Linked DNA regions of Homo sapiens: regions 2, 3, 4 and 5 are each linked to region 1. The links are contacts of gene promoters, found by promoter capture Hi-C in blood cells and fetal thymus (Javierre and others, 2016). All regions are on one chromosome and are shown on one strand. The core of a region is centred on a gene start or on the middle of the fragment in contact, and the rest is flanking DNA. Distances in the headings are between cores, read along the strand shown. Region 1 holds the start of HMGN3-AS1 (HMGN3 antisense RNA 1). Region 2 has its middle 62 kb from the start of LINC01621. Region 3 holds the start of BCKDHB (branched chain keto acid dehydrogenase E1 subunit beta). Region 4 overlaps LINC01621 (long intergenic non-protein coding RNA 1621). Region 5 has its middle 26 kb from the start of LINC01621.

Region 1 (3,004 bases), core at 292-2,791:
GAGCTAAGTGATTTTAGGGACTGTTGTCACTATATATCTAGGGGGGGAAACTGAGGCCTTTAGAAGTTGCCACGCTCTTCCAGTACAGAGTACCTTCCCACGCTTTACAGATTCCCACCATGTAACATTCATTAAAAGCCTTTATGGGTAGGAAATGAATAAGGTACCTGCTGTGTATATATTTACATTATAAAGTTTACGTATTCATTCTTACTCTTTTTCCTTCCTATGAAGACACACACTGTTCTTATTCTTACAATCTCAAAGAGAGAGCAGCGAAACAATGAAACTTCAGGATTGTGTGGCCTGGAGGCTACTAGTTGAACTGGGCATGCTCAGTCGCCAGGCAGATTTTTTTCGGTGAAGTGGAAACTACAACAGCGCGTACCGCGCGCGGAGGTGGGCGTGCCCTCGTGGAATTTAGAACGTTGCCTCAGCCAATGGGGCCTCGCGGCCGGCTGGCGGGGCTCCTCATTGGAGCAGCAGGGAGGCGAGCAGAGGGCCCCCAGAGGGAGCCGCGGAGGTGCAGGTCGAAGAGGCCGGGCTACGTCGTGCCCTGCGCGTGAGCAGCTGCAGAGGCAGAGGCAGCATCCAGCGGCGGCGCCAGCAGTTCCAGTCCGTTGCTTTACTTTTTGCTTCACCGACATAGTCATTATGCCGAAGAGAAAGGTAAGTCTTACCAAAAAAAGATTTCAAAAGCCTTCAAATTCTGCTTACAGTAAATGCTGGCATTGCAATGGCTCGCGCAGAACGCGCGCGGTAGTAACCCGGGGATTGGGAATCTTTGCTCCTCCACGCTTGTTTTTAGATGCCTGTTGCAGACGTTCCTCTCTCTGTCCCCCCTACCCACTCCGTCCTCATCGATCTCTTAATGTTACTTTCTCTCCAGTGACGCGGTTTCCCTTCTTTTTGAACTCATTCTCGCTGGAATGTTTTCCACCCCCAACAACAAGAAGCAAAAGCGGCTTTCCATTCCGAAAGGGAGTTTCCTCTTTGCAAACTGCCAGGTTGCGAATTAGTGTGAAGGGAAAACAGCGAGAGGAGAAAAACAAGTACAAGCGTAAGGAGAGGGAAGAAAATAAATCAGGCAAATGTTGGGATTATTCCCATGCGGCTGTACTCGCGGGCTGGGTGCGCTGCGGTGGCTCCTAGGCTAAGGGAAAGAGAAAGCCATGTTTAAAATAGCGCTCACCCTCCTGCTCGCCTCCGCTGCAGACCCGTATGTACCAACTCCAGTGTCAATCAGGGCTGGGGCCGGCGAGGCGGGGCCTGGCGGCCTGGACCTACCCGCAGTTCGGGGCGGGAGCGGTGGAGTTGGCAGCGTGGAAGACGGGACGGCGCCGGGGCGTCCAATATGGCTCGTCCAAGGTCAGGGGGCCACCAGGTCCTCCCCAGCGACTGGAACCCACACTCGGTTGGGGAAGGCGGGGTCCGCGCGCTATCCGCCCCTCTGCGCGTCTAGCGAACTGGAGTCATTTTTGTCTTGTCTTCCGCCCCTTGCGGACTGTCCTCTTCTGCGCAGGCCCCGGACACCAACTACTACATTCAGGGACACAAATCTCCCTCGGGGTGGGGCTTCGACTTGTCCCGGGGAGGGAAGGGAAAGGTTTCCTCCTCCCTGAGAAATCAGTGAGGATTTCTCAGCTGGTTCCTAAGCAAGTGCTTTGCACCCTCCCACCGCCAGCCTCAGTGTTTCCAACAGTGTCAACGAGTGTGGGTATTAAATTTGAAGCAAAATTACACCTAATGTCTTGCTTTATCAAAGACCATGGACTAATTTGTGTGTGAGAGTGACTGCATTATTTTAAAATACTGAAGTTTTAAAAATTCAAAAGCTTTCCCCTTCTTATATGTTATTACTAAAAATTGGGTAGAAACTTGTCTCCTACCCCACTTTTTAAAAATAATTGAAAGTGTTTAAAAGTCTTAGAGTTTGTTGTGCACATACTGTGTCCCTCACGCTGTGCAGAATTTGACTTGCATTATCTCATTTAATCCTGAAAACAGCTTGAGCGGTGTTACCCCCATTCAGCTGGGACTTAAAGACATAAATTGTCCTGCATCTCACCAACCAATAACTACTAGTAAAGATTTAATCAGATGCTATAGATGCCAAAGTCTTATTCTCACCCATTTCGTACTCACTTACGAAAGGGTGGGTCAAGAGGAATTAAGGAAATCCAAAGGTACTCCCAGTTTAAGAAGACAGATGGCATATTAAGAGCACTAATACTTGAGATTTATTATTTAAACTTAATTTTATGAAGGTATTTTCTAGCCCTGTTTTACTAGAATTAGGATATTAAGTGATGTCACCATTTTCAGCATTTTGACTGAGGGTTAATGATGGATTGGAAATTCTAGTAGAGACAAAGGAACTAATCATCAAGATACGGGTTACAGAGTAAGTGAGCTGGAGGCCATCTTTTTTTCCTGGGAATTATAACCATTGTTTACATAAACAGTAGGTTAGGTGTGCACACTTTATGTATAATGGACCCTGACGATGGAACCCTTCCTTGCTGTTTATTCAAGGGCCAGAGCTGCTGAAACCATTATTCTTACTTCCCCTGTCTGCCTCTCTCAAGGAGACGGAAGGAAAAAAAAAAAAAACTAAAATAACAGTAAAATTACAGCTACAGTTTTATTTCCCTGGAAGGCAGGGAACCCCCATGCATAAGCTAGCCAATGGTCCTGAGACTAGGGGCAAAACTGTGTACAGGCACCTGTGTGTCATTCCTGAGGACATCAGAGTGTTCTCCGGTGATGGAAAACCTCTCCTTGATTAATAGGAAGGCTTTCCATTTATACCTGAAGCCTAACGACCTCAGTTGGTACCTGGGCAGGAACAACCTCAGATTAAACACGGCGATCATGGCCATCCATCTATCAGTCAAGTCTTAGAGCAGCCTCATGGAATCCTGAAGTTCACTGGAACTTATGTGAGGAACCACTGTCATTAGGTAAAGCCTGCTTAGATACAAAAAAGAACTGGAGACAATCC
Region 2 (3,148 bases), core at 532-3,031, 640 kb before region 1:
TGTGTATGTGTGGGGTACGGGTGGGAGGTCTTCCTTCTACACAGGCTGTATCATCCACATCTCGGGCATGAGGGCTTTGGACCCTGTAGTCATGCTGCTCTTCTTAAAGCATAGCTAAAAGAAGTGATATTTACGGAAGATAAGTCTCATTCCACTTGATCTCCCAGAATCATTTTATATCATTGACACCCAACTTCTCCTTTCTTTCCGATCCTTTTGCAAAACACTCATTTCTTCTTCAGTCTCTGACTCTGTTTTCTCTAGCTCCTGCCAGCCATCAAATAAGTTGTACCTCTTTGTTTTGTCCTTGGTCCTCTTCTTTTTCTCCATGCACCTTTAATTGTGGATCTTCCCAATTCCAGGGGTTCAGCTATCATTTCATTCATTTAACTGGTGTTTTATTCCACTTCGGTTATATGGCTTGGAATCTACTTTGATTTGTTAGACTTGCAGTTAATTAATTTGTTCATTGATTAATTCATTTGTCAAACTTTTAAGACCTTCTACTACGCACCAGACACCAGGTTGAACACAGAAGATACGGAGCTGAATAAGAAATGATTCTTCTCTCAAAAATTTCACAATAATATGCTAATGTTTCCTGTTTCACAAGCTCTGAACTCTTTCCTAAGATCTAGATAAATGAAATTGCCAACTGGATGGTTTGTTTGCTCTTCAAACTAGCATGTCAGAAAAGAGTCTGGCTTTACCCCTCAGCCACCCCTACTCACATTTGTTTTTCACCATTTCTATTAGTGTCCTCAGCACCCCAGCACCAAATTATCTTCCTCCTTTTCTCGTCTTCCCAGCCTTGATTCCTCATCTTTCTCTACACATACCTCACACTTTAGTCAATAGCTCTGTCCTGAGCACACCCAAACTCTTCCCAGTCTTCCAGTATCAAGACTACTTTTAAGATCTGCTTCCTTGCAATGAGTTTCGTGTAAATTAGAATGCACATTGTGACAATATTAACTTTTATTGTCAACTTCTGTTCCTACCGTAAATGCATTTTGTAATGAATCTTCTCTCTATGGCTGTCCATGGAGGATATATTATCATTTTGTTTTACATGTGAAGAAATCAAGTGACTTGCCCATGATTATACTACTGGCAAGGGTCAGGGTCAGAAAAACAGTTTGCCAGTTTCCCAAGTATGAATCCTTTTCAGTGCTTGACGATCGTGAAGCAAGTTCTTAGCTTCTCTCAGCAGCATTTCCCAAAGGGTGTTCCTTGAGATGCTACTTGATGCTATTCAACAAACAAAGAATCCTACAGACAAATGAATTTGGGAAATGATAAGAAATTAAAACCGGCTTCTTTTCTGCTAGTATTCTCTGAATTTTTAACATGCTAATGAAGTGCATTGTGAATATATAATGCATAATATTTTATATAGCACTTTCTGAAGATGACCTAATTACCACAGAACCATTACTTCACAGCCTCTCTCAGACTTGTTTTATTCAGAATAAATCAGAGAAAATGTCTTTTAAAGAAAGGGAGCTTGGGGGTCACAGCACTAGTTCATATTCTCTTAATTTCACTTGACATGAGAAATCTTCACCTTAATATTTCCTGGTTGACCATTCAACAAGCTTGTTATGAATTCAATTACACATCAGTTTCAACCTTTGTCAAAAGCTTTTCTTAGGAGGCTCAAGGAGGTGCCTCACCTTCTGGCAGAGAACTAGTGAGTCTGTGTTTACATTCTCAGGAAAATCATATTATTAATTAATAAGAACTTCTACTTTTTTAACACTGCTAAATTCAAGACACTGGAGCACTTATCTCACTTAATCCTCAAAACTATTCTGGGGAGTAGGTACTAATGTGACCTCTATTTCACAAATGGGAAAGCAAAGGCTCAGTAGTACATGCAAGTAAGCCTATGACCACCATAATAGTGATAAGCTTAAGGCTCATCACCAAGTCTCTCTGATCAGAGCCCGTGCTTTTAGCCTTATATTCTTATATCCTGACTCATTATCAACATATTTAAAAATAGGTGAATGTGATTGAATGATAGAAAAAGAATGTACCAGGAGACAGCCATGTCTGTATCCACCTCATGATATTTATAGCTCCTAGCACAGTGCTTAGCATGTAGGAGGTGTTTAAGAAATCTCTGTTGAACAGAAATTAAGTTGAATGACAGTATGGAGCCTTATAAGGGAGGTATATAGAAACAAGAGAACACACTTTGAAAAAGAGCATCAATTAAACAACATAGTATCTTCATTGTGAACATGTGAAGAAAAATCACATCACTCTTTGGAATGACTGGAATGATTCTGAGAGCTACTTGTTTCACCAGGGTCATAGTTTCCCTGTTGGCTTATTGAGCTAGAGAACAAGATGCTGCAGCTAAGCTGTCATCATCGCCTCTCTTTGTTGTTGCTCTTTTATTACATGTTTCAGTTGCAGCAGCAGGGATGAATCAGGCATACTTACACAATCTTGAGTTTCCTGAAGGAGAATTGCCTGTTAGTCGTATATCAACTACTCACCTGCCCAACCAGTGAAGATTTAACCTTAGATATTGGAGCATGTGCACATGTCAGAAATGTAGACAGAGGATAAGTAAAGAAATAAAAAGAACATGTAAAATCATCTTCTAAGTAACTTATTCAGCTACAACCGAGAAAAATTACAAATGTTATGATCGTGTCTGCAAAAGGAAGTGGATAGGTGTATTTAGATGAGTTTCTTACACTGAGATAAGTAAGATAAGTTAAAGATAATGAAATTTATATGCTGGGGTGATGACTAAAGAAGGAAATCTTAATTACCCAAAAGAGTATGGATGGTATAAATCAACAAGGAGGGATAGAATTGGAAGGCCTAAGAGTTAAATAATTAGGAAAAACAACATATGATAAGAGAGAAAGGAGGAAATATCTAGTCAAACAACTTGAAACCGTCCTTGTTTGGTCTTAATATTAATCCTATTCAGTTGACTCTCTGATTCAGCAAGATGGGGCTCAAAGTTGAAGAGGTAACACAGCCTCTCTACCTCCTTTCAGTGTTCTGGATTTCTCATGAGTCAGTTGATGATACTCAGAGTGTGGTGCTGACACCATTCCCATTCACGTGTCCATTAAAGTAAACACCAGTGTGCACAGTGATCATTTTCACTGTGGGAACA
Region 3 (3,308 bases), core at 221-2,720, 870 kb before region 1:
AATCTTGGTCAAACTGTCTCAAGACTCCATTAACCTAACTGCAAAATGGGAATAAAAACTTTACTAACCTTTTAAGGTTGTCCTAACCCTTAAATGAGATGATGAAACATACACACAGCACCTGACCCTGGTAAGCACTCAATAACTGTTCATTCTTATCCACAAGACACACTTCCAAAAATGTCAGCTCTAGCATGCACATGAGAAGTTATTAGACAAGGAAGCAATACATGTTTCCCTACAGTTTCCTGATATTCTGAAGAGAGACACTGGATCTGATATTCTGATGAGAGACATTACATGAAACTTGCAGAAATGGTAAAAATCATGCAACAGTCATACTATGAGGAGTTTGCTACATGCCCTTCCTATGGCTTCCTCCTCTCATCCCCTTCACCTCCTTGGCTAAGTGGCAGCATAGCCCAGGACAAGCTCAGTACTAAGCTCAAGTAGAAAGTCTGAATTCTTTCACATCTCTAGGAAGGACCTGTTCTGTGACCTTGGGAAAATCAGTTCAATTACTCAGAATTCTGTAGGTAAGAAGAAACCAAGGGACATATATACATATATGCATATATATATGCATATATATGTGTGCATATATATATATGCATATATATATATATGCGCACATATATATGCATATATATGCGCGTATATATATCCACACATATATATATGTGTGTGGATATATACACACACACACACACACACACATACACACAATTTCTGTATGTAAGAAGAAACCAAGGGACTGAGTAACTGAATTGATTTTATATACATATATATATTTTATATATAATATATATAATATACATTTAAAATATATATATATAAACATATATATATATCTTTTAAATGCCTCTACCTAAGCTAGTGGCCCAGTCCTGGCCAGGCTGGAACAACACCTAAGGCCTGGGTTGAGAAAGCAAGGACGGAGGACAGAGAAAAGGGAGGCGTTCCCTGGGCACCACCCCTCCACCCTCAGGCTCTTCCAGGTGGCAGTATGCCCTCTCACCCATCTCAAAGTTGCGGGGGAGGGGGGACTGCGTCTCGAGGGCTGAACAGTCACAAAAATAGAGCAAGAAGTGAACCACAGTTAGACCCTGAGGCAAGGAGGTTCCAGAGAGTCAGGAAGTTAATAAGCTGGGATGCAAGGATTGCAGCCTGCCGGCCCCTGCCCCTCGCGGGCGCCTGCGAGCCTGGGAGTCCGGGCTGCAGCGGGACCGAGTGGGCAGTCCCAGGGCTCACCGTACTCCCGGGGCTCCGGATCTGGCTGGAAAGTAAAATGAGCCACCTGCCGCCTCTGGGCCGCATCCTCGACAGTCGCGGCGGGGTGCAAAAAGCCCCGCGCCAGCCCCGCGCCAGGAAGCCGACGCCAGTGCCCCTCAGCCCCTGCCGCCCTGAGCCTGAGTAGCCAGCCGGCAGCCGCCGCTACAACCGCCATCCCCGCTCACCACCGGGATTCTCAGGCTATGCAGCCGCACGCCGCCTGCGGGGAGGGCGGAGCACCCGAGGAGGCTTCCACATTGGTCGGGCCAGAGGGGCGGTCCCATGAAACAGACCAATCGGAACTGGAAATTTAGGGGCGGGGAAGGCGACGTGACGAGCTGGTCGGCTTCTGCTCCTTGTGCGCATGCGGAAGAGGGGAAGTGTGGGCTAGAGGTGGCGCCAATGAAATAGTTTCTGGGGTGGAGCCTCCCCGAGGTCGGCCGTGCGGTCCTCGGGTGAGGACCCGAGTTTGCAAAGTTCCACACAGTGCCTGGAGGCGATCTTTTCCGGTGTCATTTACAGTGCCATTTCCAATGGTTTAACATCCATACTTTTTTTTAAATGTAACCCTTTTTTATCCTGTCCTGTCTCTATTATTGTGTGAGAGGTGAAGAGAGCTACTGATTGGCATTGGTTATTGTTTTGACTTTCGAAAAACTGCTGTAGTCACTGCTCAAAGCTTTCACTCCTTATTCACACCCTCCTTAAAATGCTTAATAAGCATATATAGATTTTTATTGATTTCGTTTTTCCACATTTAAATGAGAGATGAAAGAGGTAAACTTAGATTTCATCCTGCAAATCCACTGAATAGGAATTCAGATACATTTTGCCCAGAAGTAGCAAAAATTACCTGATTGGCTTAGTCTAAGTAGCTTAGAAACCTGGAGAATTTGAGTCACTAATTTTCATTTATAGTAATCAACTATGTAAATTTGTTTTAATCTAAGTGTTTACCAGGATACATTCTCTGTCCATGAATTTACTAAAAAAAAAAAAAAGCACATAAAACATGAAATATCATAAAATCAAATATGACAAGAGACAACAGAGACAGTGTGTCCATCAGATGAAAATGGGAGGGTGGGGAAGGATGGTCCCAAAACAGAATTTGAAGAAGAAAGTGGGAGTGGAGGAAAAGAACATTCCTCTTCCATTATGCCTTGCCTCTTAACCCATCTTTGGTTTTGCACAGGGGCAAGGGAGGAGAGGGTAGAAATGGGGCAAAAGGAGAGGCAGAGAAATGTGTTTTCTGACTGAGATTAAGAAACAGCAATTGAAAACTGCCAAAGGGAGAACCAGAATTATGTCTCCATTTTTCCTACCCCCACACTAAGTCCAAAAATTCAACATTGGGGAAATTTTTTATCTTGGCTTTTGTTAGTGTTCATTTCTGCTGTTTTAATAGTGTGGGGTAGAGTGTTTTGCATGTGCATGAAGGGTATTTTTGTTTTAATGAAGGAAGGGGTAACAAAATGAAATTACATTTACATAGTCAAATTTGGGTTTAAACTAAGGAGAGTAAAGAACAAGGATAAAAATGAATAGAGCTTTTTTTCTATTTGTTGATAGTTTAGGGAGCTGGGGGTACTGAGATTATTTAGGTCGGGGAGAAAAAGAGAAAAATAATAACTGATGAGAATTTTATTGAACCTCTGCTACGTACAACCCAATGACAAGCCACCATTGAGACAAATAAGATCAAGGCATAGTTTTACTTCTAAAATGTCCAAGGTGGTAGAGAAAAGAGACAGATTAGGCAACTACAATCCAATGTGATAGGAGTCCTAGAATAGTGCAAACAAAGTGAAACACAAAAAGAGCAATAAACTCTTATTTGAAAGTCAAGTGTTTCCAGATATAACTCTGAGCTAGACCTAAAAGATGACTAGAAGTTACCAGGCAGACTAGGGAGAAAATGGCATTCCAAACTAAGAAGAAACCTGTATAAAGGCTGATAGGCATGAAGAGCACAGTGCATTCCAGGAAGAGAAAATAGCTTGGTGCTTCTAGATTCAGGGTGTAGGGAATGATAC
Region 4 (3,426 bases), core at 153-2,652, 570 kb before region 1:
CTCGCTGACTTCAGGAGTGAAATCGCAGACCTTTGCAGTGAGTGTTATAGCTCTTAAAGGTAGTGCAGACCCAAAGAGTGAGCAGCAGCAAGATTTATTGGAAAGAGCAAAAGAACAAAGCCTCCACAGCATGGAAGGGGACCGGAGCGGGTTACCTCTGCTGGCTTGGGTGGCCAGCTTTTATTCCCTTATTTGGCCCCGCCCATGTCCTGCTGATTGGTCCATTTTACAGGGTGCCGATTGGTCCATTTTGCAGAGTGCTGATTGGTCCATTTTACAAAGTGCTGACTGGTGCATTTACAATCCTTTAGCTAGACATGGAGTGCTGATTGGTGCGTTTTTACAGAGTGCTGATTGGTGTATTTACAATCCTTTAGCTAGATAGAGAGCACTGATTGGTGTATTTACAATCTTTTAGCTAGATACAGAGCACTGATTGGTGCATTTTTACAGAGTGCTGATTGGTGCATTTACAATCCTCTAGATAGAAAAGTTCTCCAAGTCCCCATTCGACCCAGGAAGTCCAGCTGGCTTCACCTCTCACCTGGACACATCTGTCCTTTGGCTACCTTTACATCAGTGGTTCTTTCACATTTTGGTCTCAGGGTTTCTTTACATCAAAAATAATTGAGGACCCAAAGAAACTGTGTTTATTTGAGTAATGTTTATCATCTACTACATTAGAAATTAAAATGGGATGAATTTTAAATCATGAGAATGCACAGGCACACATTCCGTTAGCAGTCAATAACATCATCACTCAGCATGGGAAAACCCACGGGTTGCTTGTGAAAGAGTGAAAGGAAAACACGAGGTAACATCATAGTATTATTACAAATTGACCTTGCAGATCTGAAGGGTCTTGGGAACCCCTGGAAATCACACTTTGAGACCACATCTTGAAAACCATTGCTTTATGTTTTTAGCATTTTTTGTTTTATATTGCATTAAATTTTATTAAGCCAACTTACATAAGTTTATAAAATATGAGGTAAACTTTTTTTAAAAAATGAAAAAGGCAAAATACTAGCTATGTAATTGTGCTGTTTATTCCCCACCTGCCCCACAGATATGTGCTCACCCTTCTCTGCTCAGCTCTGTGCCTGGGAGGCTGACCTCTACAAACTGCATCACCAGGCTTCCGCCCTCTGGCTTCCAGATGGATTTGGCCAATGGGCAGCACCAGTGGGAAAGGAGAGGACAGGAGGAGAGACAGGCTGAGGTCATGTATTTATCCCCCTCTTCCCTACCCCATGACAGTTCTGACAGGCAGCCCCTCCGTTTCTCCAGCTCTCAGCTGAGCTCCAGTAACAAGCTTCCTTCTCTTTCCCCTTTAGGGTTGGGGTGGCAAGAGCCACCACCTGGGTGTCTCACTATATCTTGTTGGCTTCCCTAATCCTGCCTACATTAATCATTTTTTTTAAATTTCAAACTCTCTTGATGCTTCCATTTGTTTCCCGAGGAATCCTGGCTAATGGAGCAAGCTTGGACACATTCCTTCATTTCACAGGTCCTCAGTTTATTTAGCTGTAAAATGAAGGGCCTGAGCAGCCTTTCCCAAAGTGGATTCTGCACATCAGTCTCACCATATTCCATTTTGTATTCTGTGGTCAAATATGTTTGGGGAACACTGAATATAATGTCCCCTTTTGGAGAGCCACAATTTGTGGCACCGTGTCAACAACTCTGAGAGGTCCTGAAGTAGATACACCTGTTTTACCCTGTTTAGTTCAGCATTTCCCAAATATAGTTAACAATGGAACCACTGTTTTTTGCTTGTTTGCTTTTGCAGAAAACCCTAATAACATAGAGAAAACACCAGATCAAGTTGGGCCATGTATGGCATTGTCTTATTCTGTGGAAAGGTATTCATTGCATATTTTTGAATATTTTCTGTTGGCCCCTCAATCCTGAAGTCTAAAATTTCCCACCCATGTGGCTCAGCTTGCTCTAGGCACAATAATGGAATTCTATTTCTGTGACCTCAATACAATGTTGAGCTTCTCTTCTGACCATGACTTTGTCGTGGTAAAGAAGTATCCCTCTAATTAAGATCAGGATTGAAAATAGAATTCCAGGAATAGTTGAATACACAATACACATTTACATACAGCACAATTGCATCCAAGCCCCGTGGAGTGTGGTGGTGCAAAGTAAGGTGTGAATCCCACTGAAACTTTCTGAAAGTGTGTGGTTGTCATGAACAACACTGACAAATCTGAGGCCCTCCTTGCTTCCTGTTACAATAAGTAACTACCTTTTCTTCTTTTTCTTTTGGAGACAGATTGGAGTGCAGTGGCATGATCTCAGCTCACCGTAGCCTTGACCTCCCAGGCTCAAGAGATCCTCTCACCTCAGCCTCCTGAGTAGCTGGGACTACAGGCACATACCAAATGCCCAGAAAATTTTTTTCTTGTGAGGGCTGGTGGGTAGAGCCTGGGTCTCTCACTATATTGCCTGGGCTGGTCTTGAACTCCTGGGCTCAAATAATCCTCCTGCCTTGGCCTTCCAAAATGCTGAGATTATAGACGTGAGCCACTGTGCGCAGCCAGTAACTACCATTTTGATCAGATCATTTCTAGAGAAATATATATCCCCTCCTGATTTTCTATTGTCAAAGCCCCAGTATCAGGCACTCATCTCTTTCCAATGTGGCACAAAGCAGGGGGCTTACCCCACTTCCAGGGCTGAATCCTGGCTGAACTAAGCCCATTTGTATGACCCCATTCTCTTTCCAATAATAGGTTTAGGAGTGGGCTTGTGACTCATTTCTAGCCAGTGGGACATGCAAGAGAGGTGGAATGCTGGGAGTTTAGAGGGAGAGTTTTCTCTGTTTCTGAAAATACAAACACCAGAAACCATGCTCCCTTTTTGGCACCCAATGGTATTTTGTTTCTAGATGTGTTACTTAGGAATGTGGCAGCTGTCTTGCCTCCACAGGGAGGACAGCATCAAAATAGAACTGATGCTGAGGACAGCAGAGGAGAGGACAAGACAAACCTGGGTGGATGGCATCATGGGGCCTCTGATTGTTCCTGCATCCATTCCATGTGGTTTAAGCCAGTTGAGTCAGCATTTTCTGTCTTGAATCCCAGATCTTTATAAATGATAGGTGTACCTTTTAATGGAACTATTCATGGCCTCAAATTCTTCCCAGATATACCCTGTGAGTGTTCAGGAAGCAGCAGAAAATTAAACACTACATTTCTTCATTCACAGGCCTCCCTCCTCCTGTGTCCCTGACATACAGTGACAGTGCTGCCCTGCAGCTCAGGATGGATGCAGTCAAGGACGACAGCGCATGTCCAAAAAAGCTGTCTGCTGAACATTTGCCCAGCAGATTTTAGAAAGAAAGGAAACATCTTAGTGATTTTCTTGCCTCCAGAAGATTCCCTGATCCAATCTTTCCTTGGCACAAACTTTTAG
Region 5 (3,418 bases), core at 730-3,229, 550 kb before region 1:
CATACGTTCATTGTAGAAAATGTAGATTGCCTGGATTAAGCAGAATAAAGAATATCTTAAAACATGTACATTCCTATCACTTCAAAGAAATAATCATTAATATTTGTGAGTCTGTCATTCTAGATTTTTTCTATATATTTCCTACTTTATAAAATGTATACATTTTGAACATTATTTTTAATTTAATTTTTAAATTCAGGAGTATTTCAACCACATCTTTCTCTATTGCTATGTACACACCTATATAACTTTTAATCACTGTATGTTGTTCTGTTGTATAGCTATAACCTAATTTATTGAAACTAGACTATTGACATTAGGCTGTTCTCATTTTATTCTATTGTATGCCATCCATCTTAAAAATGCTTGCATTCCTATCTTTGTGCATTTGTTCAGTTCTTTACTTGGGATAAAGCAGAAAATGGGAACTGATATATCAAAAAATGCACACTATTTTGTATGCTTTTGATACAAATTGTTGAATTATCCCCTGGGGTTAGCAGCCTCTAAAATGGACCCTAGTGATCCTCCCTCCTGGTATTTATGCCCTCAAATGTATGGATGGAGACCTGCTACCAGTCCCGGCAGGGAGCTGGGAAGTAGAGCTTCCTCTAGATGAGCTTTCAGATGACTGTGGCCCTCACCAACTTCTTGACTGCAGCCTTGCAAAAGACCCTAAGCCCAAGGACACAACTAGGCTACACCCAGATTCCTGACCCACGGAACTTGTGGGACAATAAATGTTTCTTGCTTTCACCTGGCATAAACCTCAGTCCTTATAAGACTACCCTAGCTGTATTTCTCCAAAAGACTAACCTAATTTAGAATCACTTCAGTGGTGGACATATGAGTGCACCTTTCCCACAGACTCAACACTGTGCCTTTTAATCTTTGCCAGACTGTTTGCATGTCTTTTATTATTACCAAAGTATTTATTTTTTATTGAATCCCCCATCCTTAGCCTTTGCCCATTTTCCTATGAGGAATTTGTCTTTTTTCTTACAATTATAAAGAATGTTTTATATATTAGAGTTATTGCAAACTCCCATTCCACCTCACTACATACACATACATGAGTTTTCTATATTTCTACTTTTATTTGATATTTTTGTTGCAATCTTTTCCAATCTGATTGGTACAAATAATAGCTCATATTGTTTTCATTCGCATATCTTTATTCCACATATGAATGTGGTCAAACTTTTACACAGTAGATTTTGTTCTTCCTGTCTTCAATATTATACTTTTAATCCTTCCTTGCTTCTTAAAACACATTTGTATTCTGTTATATTTTCTTCCAGTACTTTTATAATTTATACATTAAAAATCTTAAATATTTCAAGAATATAATTTGGCATAAAGTGTAATGTTCTATTTTAGCTTTTTCTCATGATAATTAACCAGTTGACCTAATACCATTTATTTAATAATTCTCTTTCCAATCATTTTAAGTACTGAGGAATTATAATCTTTTATACTTCACAGAGCAAATTTGCTATTACTCTTTTCTGTGAAACTTTTCTTAGATATTTTCATATATTTATTCTTATAGATCATTTTTAAATTATTTTATAATGGCTCCGATATAGAATTAACATCTTATAAGAGTAACTATTCCTTTCCAGGAGTATAGAATTATCTCCATTTATGCAGTCTGTTCTTTATGTACTACAGCTGAATGTTAGGATTTGCTTTATAAAGATCTTGCACATTTCATTTTTATTTCTTTCTCATGATTTTCTGTTGTTTAAGTTATTATTATTGTGGTGGTGGTGGTTGCTCTGTGGATGGATTTTAAGCTCCACAAGGTGAGGATATAGTCGGTTTTGCTCATCATTATATTCCCAGTATCTCATATTTTCCTTGACTCGCAGAAAGCTTGCCATCTACTTCTGGAATGAATATATGAACAAATAAGGGAGAAAGTAGCCAATATTCCATTATGCTTTCTAACAGGTTATTGATAACATATAGGAAAGCAAAAGGAATAGGAACAAGTGCATATATAATACAACTTTGTTGCACATCTAAAGTATCATTAATAAGTCTATGGCTTGAGGAAAAAATAATTAAAGCTTACATAAAAGGAGAAATCAATACAATCCCTATGAGATGAAGAGTACTTTCAAATCAGAGAAGATAACACAGGAAAAAGTGGACAAAGGACATTAAAAGGTAATTCATAAAAGAAGAAATGCGTATGGGCAATAGTTATATCAGAAGAAAATAAAGATATGCAAACAGCAACAATATGAGCTAGTATTAAATTGGCACAAAAGTAATTGTGGTTTTCCCCATTAAAAGTAATGGCAAAAACTGCAGTTACTTTTGCACCAACCTAATATTTATACCAATCAGTACAAAGATTTTAAAGTTGGATAAAAACTGTTATTGTCATAGATAGAGAAACAGGTAGTTTCCTGTGTTCTCAGCAGATAGGGTTTTAAACTGGGACACCACATACGGAGGGCAATCTAAAAATATATATCAAAATTCAAACTGAGCTAATTAGTTGATGCAGCCATTCCTCTTCCAGTAATTTAATCTTAATTTCATATTCATCTTAATTTAAATCTTTAATCTTAAAATAATTACATAGGAATGTACATCTCAAAGAAATTAAAAAAACTAGCCATTAGGGAAACATCTGCTTGGATAAATCATCTTGTATTGTTTTCATGTGAATCTGTGTCATCATGAAGTTTTCCCTCCTTTCTCTTCTATGCCTTTCTCTTCTTCTCTTCACCTATTTCCCCCCCTTCCTTTGGACACAAATAAAATGAATGTTAATTGCAAACACCAGTAAATAGTAGTTGAGAATGATGAAGAGTTAGTTACTATTTGTATGCCCAGAAATGTAAATTCCTTTAATCATGATACTACTGTTAATAATTCATGTTTATGTTTCTTCTTTTTGTAGGAAAAGTGAATTTACTGTACTGCTTATTATTGTAATTTGTGCACATATGAGATCTCTTCATTCAGAACTTAAGCTAGAACCCAAGCCATGGATTGCCTTGGTGGCAGTGTCCGGACTTATACAGAGCAGGCAGGAAGAAACAAACATCCCTGAATCCAAAACAAGCGTGAAAGCTGTACACATCTCGTGACCTTTTCTGACTTTGAAATTGCAACAGCTGATTTTCTAATGTTTTCCTTTAGCTGTGGCAAGATACCCTGGGAGCTTCAGGAACAGGAGCACTCCCTATTCTATGTGGAATGAGGGATGCTCAAAGGATGAGCCTTACCTTGCCCTGCCTAGAAGAATGATCCTTATCTTGGCTTCCCTAGAGAAGATGCCAACTTAAAAAGTGACTTGATTTGAAATGAATTCAACTCATTTATTCAAGGTAAATAATTAACCAGTCCTACAGAAAGGAACAAACAGCATTGTACCATCCAGTCACTCCTCCCTCAC

Evidence for each region. The method cuts DNA at HindIII sites, captures the fragments that hold promoters and counts their contacts. A CHiCAGO score of 5 or more calls a contact.
Region 2: a fragment that was not itself captured here is called in contact with the fragment with the promoter of HMGN3-AS1 in region 1 in 1 of 17 cell types (M2 macrophages); the score reaches 5.5 in M2 macrophages.
Region 3: the fragment with the promoter of BCKDHB here is called in contact with the fragment with the promoter of HMGN3-AS1 in region 1 in 2 of 17 cell types (naive B cells and fetal thymus); the score reaches 5.4 in naive B cells.
Region 4: a fragment that was not itself captured here is called in contact with the fragment with the promoter of HMGN3-AS1 in region 1 in 1 of 17 cell types (M2 macrophages); the score reaches 5.9 in M2 macrophages.
Region 5: a contact is called between a fragment that was not itself captured here and the fragment with the promoter of HMGN3-AS1 in region 1, in 1 of 17 cell types (M2 macrophages). The highest score is 5.8, in M2 macrophages.

What each region holds. Positions count from the first base shown.
Region 1 is chr6:79,232,211-79,235,214 of GRCh38, reverse strand. HMGN3-AS1 (HMGN3 antisense RNA 1) reads right to left here and starts at 1,541. Exons shown (of 2, transcript NR_040671.1): 1 at 1,288-1,541; 2 at 1-1,153. HMGN3 (high mobility group nucleosomal binding domain 3) reads left to right here and starts at 533. Exons shown (of 7, transcript NM_001201363.2): 1 at 533-669. The coding sequence starts at 655. RefSeq lists enhancers at 415-1,204, 1,205-1,995 and a silencer at 1,208-1,257. The HindIII fragment of the contact is 3,424 bases long and covers 1-1,837 here.
Region 2 is chr6:79,872,424-79,875,571 of GRCh38, reverse strand. No RefSeq gene overlaps it. Among named protein-coding and RNA genes, the nearest start is that of LINC01621, 62 kb to the right of the region's middle. The HindIII fragment of the contact is 270 bases long and covers 1,647-1,916 here.
Region 3 is chr6:80,104,833-80,108,140 of GRCh38, reverse strand. It overlaps BCKDHB (branched chain keto acid dehydrogenase E1 subunit beta), which reads right to left and starts at 1,470. Exons shown (of 10, transcript NM_183050.4): 1 at 1,252-1,470. The coding sequence starts at 1,447. RefSeq lists enhancers at 1,128-1,207, 1,174-1,674 and silencers at 1,258-1,357, 1,388-1,587. The HindIII fragment of the contact is 20,612 bases long and covers 1-1,953 here.
Region 4 is chr6:79,803,692-79,807,117 of GRCh38, reverse strand. It overlaps LINC01621 (long intergenic non-protein coding RNA 1621), which reads left to right. Exons shown (of 5, transcript NR_131786.1): 4 at 1,070-1,222; 5 at 3,220-3,426. Among named protein-coding and RNA genes, the nearest start is that of LINC01621, 6.8 kb to the left of the region's middle. RefSeq lists an enhancer at 1-646. The HindIII fragment of the contact is 169 bases long and covers 1,318-1,486 here.
Region 5 is chr6:79,784,297-79,787,714 of GRCh38, reverse strand. No RefSeq gene overlaps it. Among named protein-coding and RNA genes, the nearest start is that of LINC01621, 26 kb to the left of the region's middle. The HindIII fragment of the contact is 197 bases long and covers 1,881-2,077 here.